3 separate regions of the Homo sapiens genome follow, and all the other regions are linked to region 2. The links are contacts of gene promoters, found by promoter capture Hi-C in blood cells and fetal thymus (Javierre and others, 2016). All regions are on one chromosome and are shown on one strand. The core of a region is centred on a gene start or on the middle of the fragment in contact, and the rest is flanking DNA. Distances in the headings are between cores, read along the strand shown. Region 1 has its middle 12 kb from the start of PIN4. Region 2 holds the start of RTL5 (retrotransposon Gag like 5). Region 3 overlaps PIN4 (peptidylprolyl cis/trans isomerase, NIMA-interacting 4).

Region 1 (4,660 bases), core at 453-2,952, 38 kb before region 2:
TATATATATATATATATATGCCAGGATATATGTATATATGCCAGGATATATATATATATATATATATGCCAGGATATATGTATATATGCCAGGATATATATATATATATATATATATATATATATATATATATATGCCAGGATATATATGTATGTATATGCCAGGATATATATATATATATGCCAGGATATATATATATATATATATACGCCAGGATATATATATATATTTTTTTTTTTTTTGCATTTTTGGTAGAGATGGTATTTCACCACGTTGCCTAGGCTGGTTTCAAACTCTTGAGCTCAAGTGATCCACCTGCCTTGGCTTCCCAAAGTGCTGAAATTACAGGCATGAGCCACTGCCACCCAGCCCCAGCTTTCTTTTGATTCATGTTAGCATGGTAAATATTTTTCTATCTTTTTACTTTTAACCTGTTTGTGTCATTATACCAAAGTGAGGGCTTTTTTTTTCAGGGAGCATATAGTTGAGTCCTGTGCTTTTCCTTTTAAAAAAAATTTTTTTTTATTTTTTATTTTTTAACTTTTTTTTTTTTAAGAAACAGAGTCTCACTCTGTCACCCAGGCTGGATGCAGTGGTGTGATCACAGCTCACTACAGCCTTGAACTCCTGGGATCAGGTGATCCTCTGGCCTCAGCGTCTCAAGTATCTAGGACTACAGGCATGCGCCACTACACCTGGCTAATTTTTTAAACATTTTTTGTAGAGATGGGGTCTTGCTGTGTTGCCCAGGCTGATCTCGAACTCCTGGGCTCAAATGATCCTCCCACCTTGGCCTCCCAAAGTGCTGGGATTATAGGCATAAGCCACTGTGCCCTGCCCTCTGTGCTTTTTCTACTTAATATGACAGTCTTTCCCTTTGGAATGGGAGTGTTTAGATGCTTTGCATTTAATGTGATTATTGATATGGTTAGATTTCTATATGGTTTCTCTTTGTTCCATCTGTTCTTTGTTCCATTTTCCTCTTTCTTTGCCCTCTTTCAGATTGAGTTTCTTTCTTCCTTCTTCTTCTTTTTTTTTTTTTAATATAAAGAGATGGGATCTTGCTCTATCACCCAGGTTGGAATGCAGTTGTGAAATCATAGCTCACTGCAGCCTCAAACTCCTGGGCTCAAGGGATCCTCCCACCTCACCCTCCTGAGTAGCTGGGACTACAGGCACATACCACCACCCCCTGCTAATTTTTAAATGTTTTGTAGAGATGAGGTCTTTCTATGTTGCCCAGGCTGGTCTCAAACTCCTGGCCTCAAGCAATCATCACGACTTGGCCTCCCTAAGTGCTGGGATTACAAGTGTAAGCCACCATGCCTGGCCAAGTATTTTTATGACTCATTTTTATCTCCATTGTTGGCTATTATCTATAACTTTTTGTTCTATTATTTTAGAGGTTGCTTTAGGGTTTATATTATAAATCTTTAACTTGGCTAGGCGCAGTGGCTCATGCCTGTAATCTCAGCCCTTTTGGAGGCTGAGGCAGGCAGATCACTTGAGGTCAGGAGTTCAAGACCAGCCTGGCCAACATGGTGAAACCCTGTCTCTACTAAAAATACAAAAAATTAGCCGGGCGTGGTGATGCGTGCCTGTAATCCCAGCTACTCAGGAGGCTGAGGTGGGAGAATTGCTGGAACCCAGGAGGCGGAGGTTGCAGTGAGCTAAGATCACACCATTGCACTCCAGCCTGGGAGACAGAGCGAGACTCCATCTCAAAAATCAATCAATCAATCAATTAATTAATTAATGTTTAACTTTTCATATTATACATTCAAATGATATACCACTTCACCTACAGCATAGGAACCTTACAAAGGTATACTTCCATTTCCCTCCTCTGACCTTTGTGTTATTGTTGTTATATATTTTACTTATCTACGTCATAAACCTCACAATATATTGTAATTATTTTTGCTTTAAATAGTCAATTATCTTTTTCATTTTAAACATTCTTATTTTAAAAGAATTATAGATTAACAGGAAGTTATAAAATACTACAGAGAGGTTCTGGGTATCTTTCACCCAGTTCCCCCAAATGGTTACATTTCATGTAACTATAGTACAATATCAAAACCAGGAAATTGGCACTGACATAATATGTGTGTATGGTTTTATGTCATTTGATGCCCCGTGTAGGTCCATGGAACTACCATCAAGATACAAAACTGAGGCAGGAGAAAAGGGTCTGGAGGCAGGGAATCTAAGACCAATTCACGCTGACTTCCTAGAACTAAATCAAAAGGAAAACCCCAACTTTCTACACCTAAGTAACAAAAGGACCAGAAGCTACTTCCTTTGCAACGTGCCCCTTTTCTGCGCGGCAGATGGAAAATTGAAAGTATCTCTAATTGGTTGCTTTCTGCAACCAATCAGATGTTTGCATAGGAGTGTGACTTTGTAACTTCACTTCAGCCTCTGATTGTTGCTTTCTGCAACCAATCAGACTGATTGTGGGCCAAGTCTTCTTTTGTATAGGAGTGCAACTTTGTAATTTCACTTTAGCCTCTGATTGCGTACTTACTTCATTTGCATGGAGTGAACACCAAGTGGCCAATGGGAAACCTCTAGGGGGTACTTGGACCCCAGAAGATTCTGTAACTGGGCTCTTGAGCCCCTGTGCTCGGGGCCTGCTCCCACACTGTGGAGTGTACTTTCATTTTCAATAAATTTCTGCTTTTGTTGCTTTATTCTTTTCTTGCTTTGTGTGTTTTGTCCAATTCTTTGTTCAAAATGCCAAGAACCTGGACACCCTCCACCAGTAACACAACTATCCCATCATCTTCATCTCTAAACCCTAGAAATAACTAATCTGTTCTCCATCTTTATAATTTTGTCACTTTAAGAATGTTACATAAATGGAATTATGCAGTATGTTACCTTTTGAGATTGCCCTTTTTCACTCACCATGGTTCCTTTGAGATCTGTCCAAGTTGTTTCACATATTAATATTTCATTCTGTAGTATTCCGTGGTTTGGATGTACCACGCTTTGTTTAGCCACTCACCTATTAAGGGACAGTTTGGTTATTTCCAGTTTTTGGCTATTGCAAATTAGAGTGCTGTGAACACTCATGTATAGGTTTTTGTGTGGACATAAACTTTTATTTTATGTACTTATTTTATTTTGAGATGGAGTCTCACTCCGTCGCGCAAGCTAGAGTGCAGTGGTGCAATCTCGGCTCACTGCATCCTCCACCTCCTGGGTTCAAGCGATTCTCCTACCTCAGCCTCCCGAGTAGCTGGGATTACAGGAGCACACCATCACGCCTGGCTAATTTTTGTATTTTTAGTAGAGATGGGGTCTCACCATGTTGGCCAAGCTGGTCTCGAACTCCTGAGCTCAAATGATCCACCAGCCTTGGCCTCCTAAAGGGCTGGGCTTACAGGCATGAGCCACCGCACCCAGCCCATAAACTTTTTTTACTGGACTAATTAACCAAGAGCGCAATTGCTGGGTCAATCGGTAAGTATATGTTTGGTTTTTAAAGAAAATGCTAAATTATTTTCCAGAGTGGCTGTACCATTTTGCATTTCCACCAGAATTATGTGAGTGAACTATTTCTCTGCATTTTTACCAGCATTTGGTATTGTCACTATTTTTTTTTTTTTTTTTTGAGACAGAGTCTCACTCTGTCGCCCAGGCTGGAGTGCAGTGGCATGATCTTGACTCACTGCAACCTCCACCTCCTGGGTTCAAGCAATTCTCCTGCCTCAGCCTCCCGAGTAGCTGGGACTACAGGTACATGCCACCATGCCCAGCTAATTTTTGTATTTTTAGTAGAGACGGGGCTTCACCATGTCTCGATGGCCAGGTGGCCAGGATGGTCTTGATCTCCTAACCTCATGATCTGCCCCCCTCGGCCTCCCAAAGTGCTGGGATTACAGGCATGAGCCACCACACCCAACTGGTATTGCCACTATTTTTAATTTTTGTTGTTCTAATAGGTGTGTAGTAGTATCTCATTGCGTTCTTAATTTGCATTTTCTAATGGCTAGTGATGTTGAACATATTTTCATGTGTTTATTTTCCATCTGTAGATAACTTTGGTGAACTGTCCCTTCATGTTCTTTGCCCATTTTCAAATTGCATTTTAATAATCATTGTCTTGGGTGGGCATAGTGGCTCACGTCTTTAATGCCAGCACTTTGGGAGGCTGAGGCAGGTGGATCACTTGAGGTCAGGAGTTCGAGACCAGCCTGGGCAACATAGTGGAACCCCCCCACCTCTACTTTTAAAATAAAAACAAAAAAAATGCCGTTTAAGATAATTGTAGATTCACATGCAGTTGTTAGAAATTATGAGTCCATGTGTACCCCTTGTCTAGTTTCACTCAATGAAACTTGCAAAACAATAGTACAGTATCACAAACAAGAAATTAACATTGATACAATCCGTCTATCTTATTCAGATTTCACCAGTTTTACATGCACTCAAATGTATATTTGTGTATTAACTCGATGTAATTTTACCATGTTGTAGATTTGTGTAACCTCCGTCACAATCAAGATACAGAATAATCTCATTACAAGAATCCCTCATGATATTCTTTTATAGCCACAGCACCTCCCTCCCTCCCTCGTTCCCTAGTTTTTAACAACCACTAATATGTTTTCCATCCTTGTAAATTTGTTATTCCAATAATGTTATGGAA
Region 2 (3,279 bases), core at 768-3,267:
GAAAAGTGCTTGCTTCCCAGGACCATGAGGATCGAGGAGAAGAGAAAGTCAATAAATTCATGCTGTGGTGGTTTGGGGACCAAGCCCTTATCTCAATGATCCCCACCTTGAGTGCTCAGTTACGAAAAGAGGCTCAGAATGCAGACACCTTTTGCTACTTTGGACTGCAAGTTCCTCTCTTTGAAGCCCTGCAGCTCTTAAGGTTTTCTGCGACCCTACCAAGGAAATGACCTGTGTGAAGCAAGAAGAGATTTACACCAGGAAGTCCAATCTGGAGTTCTTTCTTGGATGTCAAGAACTTTTACTTGAGCCTTTGTGGGCCGTGTTCCCTGCACCTTAGTCCCGCTGTAAGTGATGTCAGGTCTAGGAGGGCTAAGGTGAAGGAGAGGGAAGGAGGAGGTAACAGCATAAAAGAGGCAGAAGTTCAGCGGCATCATCAGTGAGTAAGGATGCACAAGATTTGAATAGGGTTGATTGAAGTGATGAATTTGATGAGAATACATGAAGAAAGTGAGAGTAGAGAAGGGACATTCATGCTGTATGTACACTGAACAAAGACTCAGAATCACAGAGATTTGGGGTTGCTCTTGGGGTTCTTTGGTCCAACGCCTCATTCTGTGCCCAGACTCCCTCCTCAGCAGCCCTTCTAGGTGTTTCTTCAGCCTCAGCGCACACACCTGCAGGGAAGGGGAGCTCCCTCCCTCCCAAGGCAGCTCATTTCTTCCACGGACAGTTGGGGCTGTCAGGTGTGTCAGAAAGTTCTTCCTTATCTGGAGGTGGAATGTGCCTCCTTCTGGGTTTCCACCCACTGGTCCTAATTCTGCCATGGTAGCAACACAGAGCACATCGACTCTTTTTCTGTGTGGCAAGTCCTTTGTTATCTGAACACAAGGCTCATGGTGTCCCTTGGCATCTTGCTTTTCCAAGGTCACCACTGCCCTGGTAGGGGGTGGGGGTTATGGCTGTCATCCTGTTGGTGGCCCATCAGCAGTTTTCTATTCGCCATTAGAGTTAACCTTTATTAGTATAGATAAAGGAGTGCTGACAAGACCTCTTTTCATGCTCAACATCCACTGAGCACCTCTTGGCAGGTGGGGAGGGAATCCAGCCTTGTGCCAGGTGCTTCTGGAAACCTAAGGGTAGCAAGATGTGATTCTTTACATCGAGAAGCTCAGGCTTGGTTAGGGGGGACAAAATAGGTGACCTCTGGGTGCTGTGTATTGGGCTTACTTTGGTGAGGCAGTAGCTATCCAGGGGTTATTGCAAGAGCAGAGTGAGTGAAGCCCAGAGTGGGAGATCCTGCAGATGCCCCCTTTGTCTTCTGGTGCCAGGATCCCAAAGGCATGGGCGATGTGGCAAGAGGGGGGCTGGAGGGAATGTAGGCCCACATTGTGGGAGTCTCCCACCCAGCTCTCGGTGAATGGCATAACTTATGGCCCTGCCTCAGTCTCTGTCCTTGTTTCCCCATGGGCTACTGAGCTGAAAAAAGGGGCTGGGGATGGGGGGAAACAGCCCTGGAAATAGCCTCTTTCAGAATCATTAGGCTGAAAGGTGAAAGCTGGAAACTGCTTTGTCGATTGTTTTTAAACTCTCTGTCTTTATCTTGCTGGTCCCTGTCCTCTTTCTTCTTTGCCTCCCTCCTGCCGCTGCGCATCTCGCTTCTGGGCTCCGGCCGCAGCCCCCCTCCCTCTCGGTACCTTGCAACAGGCTCTGGAGATTGAGCTGCGCCTCCCGAAGCAGCTCCTCTACACTCGGGGGCCTGCCCGAGGAGAGGAACACGTTCACTGGCTGTCGCCATGACGACCTCGAGTGGGCAGTCGCTGTCGCATTTTCCCGACCCGAGTTAGCTGCAGCTAGGGAAGGAGAGAGTCAGTGAGAGGCGCAGGCGAGCTGGAGGGGAGCGGCGCGCGGCGGCCAGTGGGCGCCCGCGGTTCCCCAAGGCCCGCCCCTGCGTGGGGTGGGGGGAGTGCGAGGCTGCGCTTAAAAGGCGGGGAATCGCCGGCCGCAAGATTTTTCCTCGACAGATCCTGCCGCAGTCCGCTCCCTCCCGCTCCGCTCGCCCCTGCCCGCCCGCCCGCCCGGTCGCGCGGTCGCCGCCGCCACCGTGTCGCCCGCATCCTCCGCCTGGCGCCTCCGGGCCCCGTGCCTCCGCCCGCCCTCTCCGGCCCCGGCGACGAGGTAACGCGCCCTGGGCCGAGCCGCCGGGCCCTCCGCCCAGAGCGCCGCCCTCCGAGCTCGCCCCGGTGGGTGTGGCCCGGCCTGGCCCGTGCCCCGCTGCCGCACTTCGGTCCCTCCCGAGCCCCGCCGCCGCATTTCGGCCTCCTCCGGCCGCCCGTAGTTCCAGTTCCCCTTTCCCCACCACGGAGCCCCAGGGCCCCTGGGCTTGTCGAGATGTCTGAGGCGTCAGGAAATCTCAACAGCCTCCGCATGGCGAATGTGGCCCTGCGCGAAGAATTAAATGCCCTTCGCGGGGAGAATGCCAATTTGGGCCTCCAGCTCGGGAGAGCCCTGGCCGAGGTTAATTCCTTGCGGGGCAATGTCTCCAGCTACATCCGCTGGCCAGTACCCATAGTGCCCGTCCTTGCGGAGGAGAACTTGGAGTTCGCGCTCAGTGAGATCGAAGTCATTCCCGGGGGAGAACTGCCCTTCTTGTGCCGGCCTCCCCCACGCGCGGAGCCCGACTGTATCTCGGATGATCTTTTGATTAACGTGATCCAGGATCGCAGCACCCCCGACGGGCCCGCTGACCCCCCTCTGCTGCCCATCCCGCCCCCGCCGGCGCTGCCTCCGCCCGCGTCAAAGGAACCGCCCCCGCAACCCCCTCTGGCACCGCTGGAGCGGCCTGAGATAGAGCCCTTTTCAGGAGACCCAGTCTACCTGGCTGAATTCCTGATGCAGCTAGAGACCTTCATAGCCGACCATGAGGTTCATTTCCCCGGGGGCGCCGAGCGGGTGGCCTTTCTGATCTCCTTTTTCACTGGCGAAGCCAAGGACTGGGCCATCTCGGTCACCCAGGAAGGAAGCCCCTTGCATGCCAACTTCCCGCGCTTCCTGGATGAAATCCGTAAGGAATTCTGTGGCCCCATCCCCCCACGTGTGGCTAAAAAGGCCATTCGCAAGCTCAAGCAGGGCCACTGTACCCTCGGCAGCTATGCAGATGCTTTTCAGTTCCTGGCCCAATTCTTGTCTTGGGATGACTGCCGCCTCCAAAACCAATTCCTCAAAGGCCTGTCGGAATTCTTCCGCAAAGAGCTCTTATGGTCAACAGAAATGGCCGAC
Region 3 (4,561 bases), core at 1,213-3,712, 55 kb before region 2:
GATCCTGACTCACTGCCGCCTCAAACTCCTGGGCTCAAACAATCCTCCTACCTCAGCCTCCCAAGTAGCTGGGACTACAGGCACACACGACCATGCCCAGCTAGATGTATTATTTCTTAAAACTGCATGTGAATCTATAATTATCTCAAAATAAAAGGCTTTATAAAAACAAATTTAACCCTAATCTACTTTCCTAGTGAATAACGTGCCACTCCTTTCCATATATCTCATGAGTGGCCACATTGAACTTATTTTTTTTCCAGAGAGGGTAAGGTGCCTCTTTAAAGCCACATGCACCAGGTGTGGTGGCTCATGCCCCTATAATCTTAACACTGTTGGAGGCTGAGGCGGGAGGATCGCTTGAGGCCAGGAGTTCAAGACCAGCCTGGGCAACATAGCGAGACTCCATCTCTACAAAGATAAAAACAACAAAACAAAGTTTTTAAAAAATTAGCTAAAGCCGCCAGGCACGGTGGCTCATGCCTGTAATCCCAGCACTTTGGGAGGCCGAGGCAGATGGATCACCTGAGGTCAGGAGTTCAAGACCAGCCTGGCCAACATGGTGAAACCTCATCTCTACTAAAAATACAAAAAACTAGCTGGGCGCGGTGGCGGGCACCTGTGATCCCAGATACTTGGGAGGCTGAGGCAGGACAATCGCTTGAACCTGGGAGGCGGAGGTCGCAGTGAGCCGAGATCGTGCCATTGCACTCCAGCCTGGACAACAAGAGTGAAACTCCGTCTCAAAAAAAAAAATAAAAAAAAGTAGCTAAAGCCATATGCAGTGCAACAGTCTCTTAGGTTAGATGCTTGTGAAAACATATTAGGTGAAAACTGCATATAGCCAAAATTACCCTAGAATATCCCTTTATGAAGATGTCATATGGGAGACCAGCATGTCAGCTCTCATTTAAGCCCAGACATAGCCAGGAACGCTGTACTCCGTTTGTAACATGAAGTAACTGGGTTGTATTTAGGGGCTATGTTTTATGAAAACTTATCTTTGGATACCAGAACCCCACTTCACATGATTGGATGCTCACACAAGAATTCAGGGCAACTATAGAAAAGCAGGTGCATGTCTCTCATCTCTCTCTCTCTCTGTGGGGCATAGGTTCATTGAATAGAAGAGTGGGCAGAACAGTCCACACCATTTACATGATCTCTCTTTTTTAGGCTACACATGTATGGCTGAATTTATATGATGCAGTTCCACTGCTATGCTTATCATACAGCAATGAAATACATATCTTTACCTAACTGCTCCCAAGTAGCCTGTGATAACAAGGACCATCTCTTACTTTTTATTTATTTTTTTGAGACAGGGTCTCGCTCTGTTGCATAGGATGAGTGTAGTGGCACAATCATGGCTCACTGTAGCCTCAAATTCTCGGGCTCAAGCGATCCTCCCACCTCAGCCTCCTGAGTAGCTAGGGCCACAGTTGTGCACCACCACGTCTGGCTGATTTTTTATTTTTACTTTTTTAGTGACAGGGTCTTGCTATATTGCCCAGGCTGGTCTCAAACTCCTGGGCTCAAGTGATCCTCGTGCCTTGGCCTCCCAAAGTGCTGGGATTACAGGAATGAACCATTGTGCCTGGCCCATCTCTTACTTTTTTATTAAATAAATACATGATAAAAAATCCCCAGAGCCTAATACATTGCTTGGCACAGGGCAGATGTCACTAAGTCCTTACTGAATGAATGAATCAAAGTACAGCCTCCCATATCCTGACTAAAACATGGAAATTGCCTTGTTACATAGCACTTACTAGTTTGCAGATTAAATTTTCTCCCAGCAGATACTCCTCTGGGGCTAGGTTAAGTATTTCAAGTAATTATTTGCTGATTTTCTCCTGCCCCCATTTTCATGGTCAAGACCCTGGTTTGTGGCTCACCAGTGGGGAAGCTTTCTAAAGAGACCTGCACCCTTGCCTGTTTATTCAGCAGAGGACTTTTAACACTTATCTAATCTCTTGGTTTTATAAAATATTATTTTGTCCTAAGAAATAACTCAATTACTGGGAAGATCTAACTTAATGCATTTTAAGGAACAATACTAAAAAACTATAAAGAAATTCTGGGTATCTGAGAAAGTACATGACAAAATATTTAAAGGGAATTACTTTTCATAAGCAAGACTGGTCTATATTTTCCATTTTTTTAAAATTTATTTTTATTTATTTATTTTTTTGAGATGGAATCTTACTCTGTTGCCCAGGCTGGAGTGCAGTGGTGCAATCTCAGCTCATTGCAACCTCAGCCTCCTGGTTCAAGCGATTCTTGATTCTCGTGCCTCAGCCTCCCAAGTAGCTAGGATTACAAGTGTACACCACCACACCAGGCAAATTTTTGTATTTTTAGTAGAGACAGGGTTTCACCATTTTGGCCAGGCTGATCTGCCTGCCTTGGCCTCCCAAAGTGCTGGGATTACAGGTGCGCCCAGCTACAATTTTGTGTTATTTTGATTTTATACCAGTGTTAGGCTAGCCTGTTAGAATGAGTTAAGCATTCTGTCTTTTATGTGTACTAACACATAAACAGAATTTATATTTAACATGGAAAAAAAGGAACCAGTAACTCACCTTTACTGCATTGCCACCACCTTTGGGACCTTGAGCCTTCTTGTCAGCACTGTCACTCCCAGAGGCTGCTCCCCCTTTAGAGAAGAGATGACAGGTACTCATTTAAACTGCACCTCCATGTTTACAGAAAGGTCCAACACACAACCGGAGTGGATATTTCCATCATAACGCCACACTTCAAAAGGGAACTCGGCCAGACACTTTACAACAAGGGTATCCAACCTTTCAGCTTCCCTGGGCCACAATGGAAGAATTATCTTGGGCCACACAAAATACGCTAACACTAATGATAGTTGACAAGCTAAAAAAAAAAAAAATCACAAATAAAAATCTCATAATGTTTTAAGAAAGTTTGCAAATTTGTGTTGGGCTGCATTCAAAGCCATCCTGGGCCGTATGCAGCCCGTGGGCCGTGGGTTGGACAAGCTTGCTTTACAACATCAAGCTAAATTAATCTGACCCATCTTTCTTCAAACAGGAAATCTGTGCCCTATATAAACCCTTCACAGAAAATGGATACACAAATGAGTGTGCTAATAGGTGAATGAAAGCTCCGGAAGCCTGGCCCAGATTCTTTGCATCCAATTTAACACCCTGCCTTCTGAGGGCAGACTCCTAAGTTCTTGTAAGAGTTCTATCATGTACCACAACTATGTGTTCAAGCATCACAATTCCAGTAAGTAAAATCTCTAAGAATACATTTTTTAAAAAGATCAAATTTCCCACTACCCATTTTTGGCTAAAGAATACATTCATGTCCAAATTTCTAGAGTCTACTACATTGCCTATTGATGTCTTCCTAGAACCATTAGCAGCATCTTACATTTTACTAGTATGTCATTTTACTACTATGGTAACTTCTGTGTCAATGGCAGCCTACATACTGCTAGAGGCTGATGTTCCTAAGAATTACAGTTGAATTAAGGGCTCAGTTCAATAAACATTTCCTATACAACTACTGAGTTCCAGGCACTGGGAGTACAAAGATGAACAAGCCATGTACCTTCCTTCAGAAAACTCATATTCTAGTGAGGAAGACGGATCATTTCAGGAGAATGCAGGAGATGCAGAGATGGTTATGGACAGGGGGCTGTGGAAGCACAGAGGGACACTGGAGCCAGCCAGGGAAGGTTTCCTGGATGAGTAGGAGCTGGTTAGCCAAAGAAAGGATGAGGAGACACTCCAGAATGGGGGAAACGACATGGTATGTGTAAGAAATTGTATGGATGAAGCCAAATCTGAGGTGGGAGTGCACTCAGATGAGCCTGCCTGAGGGAGGTAGCTGAGGGTCAGGGCATTGAGGCCTTTTGGCCCCATTAAGGAGCTTGGGACTTATCCTAGACGTAATAGGGAGCCATTGAAAAGTTGTTTTTTTTTTTTTTTTTTTGAGACGGAGTCTCGCTCTGTCTGTCGCCCAGGCTGGAGTGCAGTGGCGCGATTTCGGCTCACTGCAAGCTCCGCCTCCCGGGTTCATGCCATTCTCCTGCCTCAGCCTCCCGAGTAGCTGGGACTACAGGCGCCTGCCACCACGCCCCGCTAATTTTTTTTGTATTTTTAGTAGAGACAGGGTTTCACCCTGTTAGCCAGGATGGTCTCGATCTCCTGACCTCGTGATCTGCGAGCCTCGGCCTCCCAAAGTGCTGGGATTACAGGCGTGAGCCACCGCGCCTGGCCGCCATTGAAAAGTTTTAAGCAAGAGTCTCCATCTTGCTTGTCTTAGTATCTCCAAGCCTAGCACAATGCCTGGCACACAAAAGGTGTTTTAATAAATGTTTGATTAAACTGAAAACCCCAAATACTGACTACCAAAACCCTAAAAAAATGTTACTGCCAAAGGAGTGTTATTAAATCAAACTCCTAACTGGGTTTGCTATAGATCCATTCTTGAATGATGATGCCTTCCAGTTATCCCATCCTCTTCCCTGCTGGATGCTGTCATCTTCTGACTGCCACCTCACTGCCTTTGATTTCCTGAC

Evidence for each region. The method cuts DNA at HindIII sites, captures the fragments that hold promoters and counts their contacts. A CHiCAGO score of 5 or more calls a contact.
Region 1: a contact is called between a fragment that was not itself captured here and the fragment with the promoter of RTL5 in region 2, in 1 of 17 cell types (neutrophils). The highest score is 5.9, in neutrophils.
Region 3: a fragment that was not itself captured here is called in contact with the fragment with the promoter of RTL5 in region 2 in 1 of 17 cell types (neutrophils); the score reaches 5.5 in neutrophils.

The regions. Positions count from the first base shown.
Region 1 is chrX:72,166,971-72,171,630 of GRCh38, reverse strand. No RefSeq gene overlaps it. Among named protein-coding and RNA genes, the nearest start is that of PIN4, 12 kb to the left of the region's middle. The HindIII fragment of the contact is 8,980 bases long and covers 1-4,660 here.
Region 2 is chrX:72,130,653-72,133,931 of GRCh38, reverse strand. RTL5 (retrotransposon Gag like 5) reads left to right here and starts at 2,017. Exons shown (of 1, transcript NM_001405151.1): 1 at 2,017-3,279. The coding sequence starts at 2,392. NHSL2 (NHS like 2) reads right to left here. Exons shown (of 8, transcript NM_001013627.3): 2 at 1,698-1,853. RefSeq lists silencers at 1,937-1,996, 2,157-2,226. The HindIII fragment of the contact is 11,603 bases long and covers 1-3,279 here.
Region 3 is chrX:72,184,559-72,189,119 of GRCh38, reverse strand. It overlaps PIN4 (peptidylprolyl cis/trans isomerase, NIMA-interacting 4), which reads right to left. Exons shown (of 4, transcript NM_006223.4): 2 at 2,586-2,659. Among named protein-coding and RNA genes, the nearest start is that of PIN4, 5.1 kb to the right of the region's middle. The HindIII fragment of the contact is 1,102 bases long and covers 1,912-3,013 here.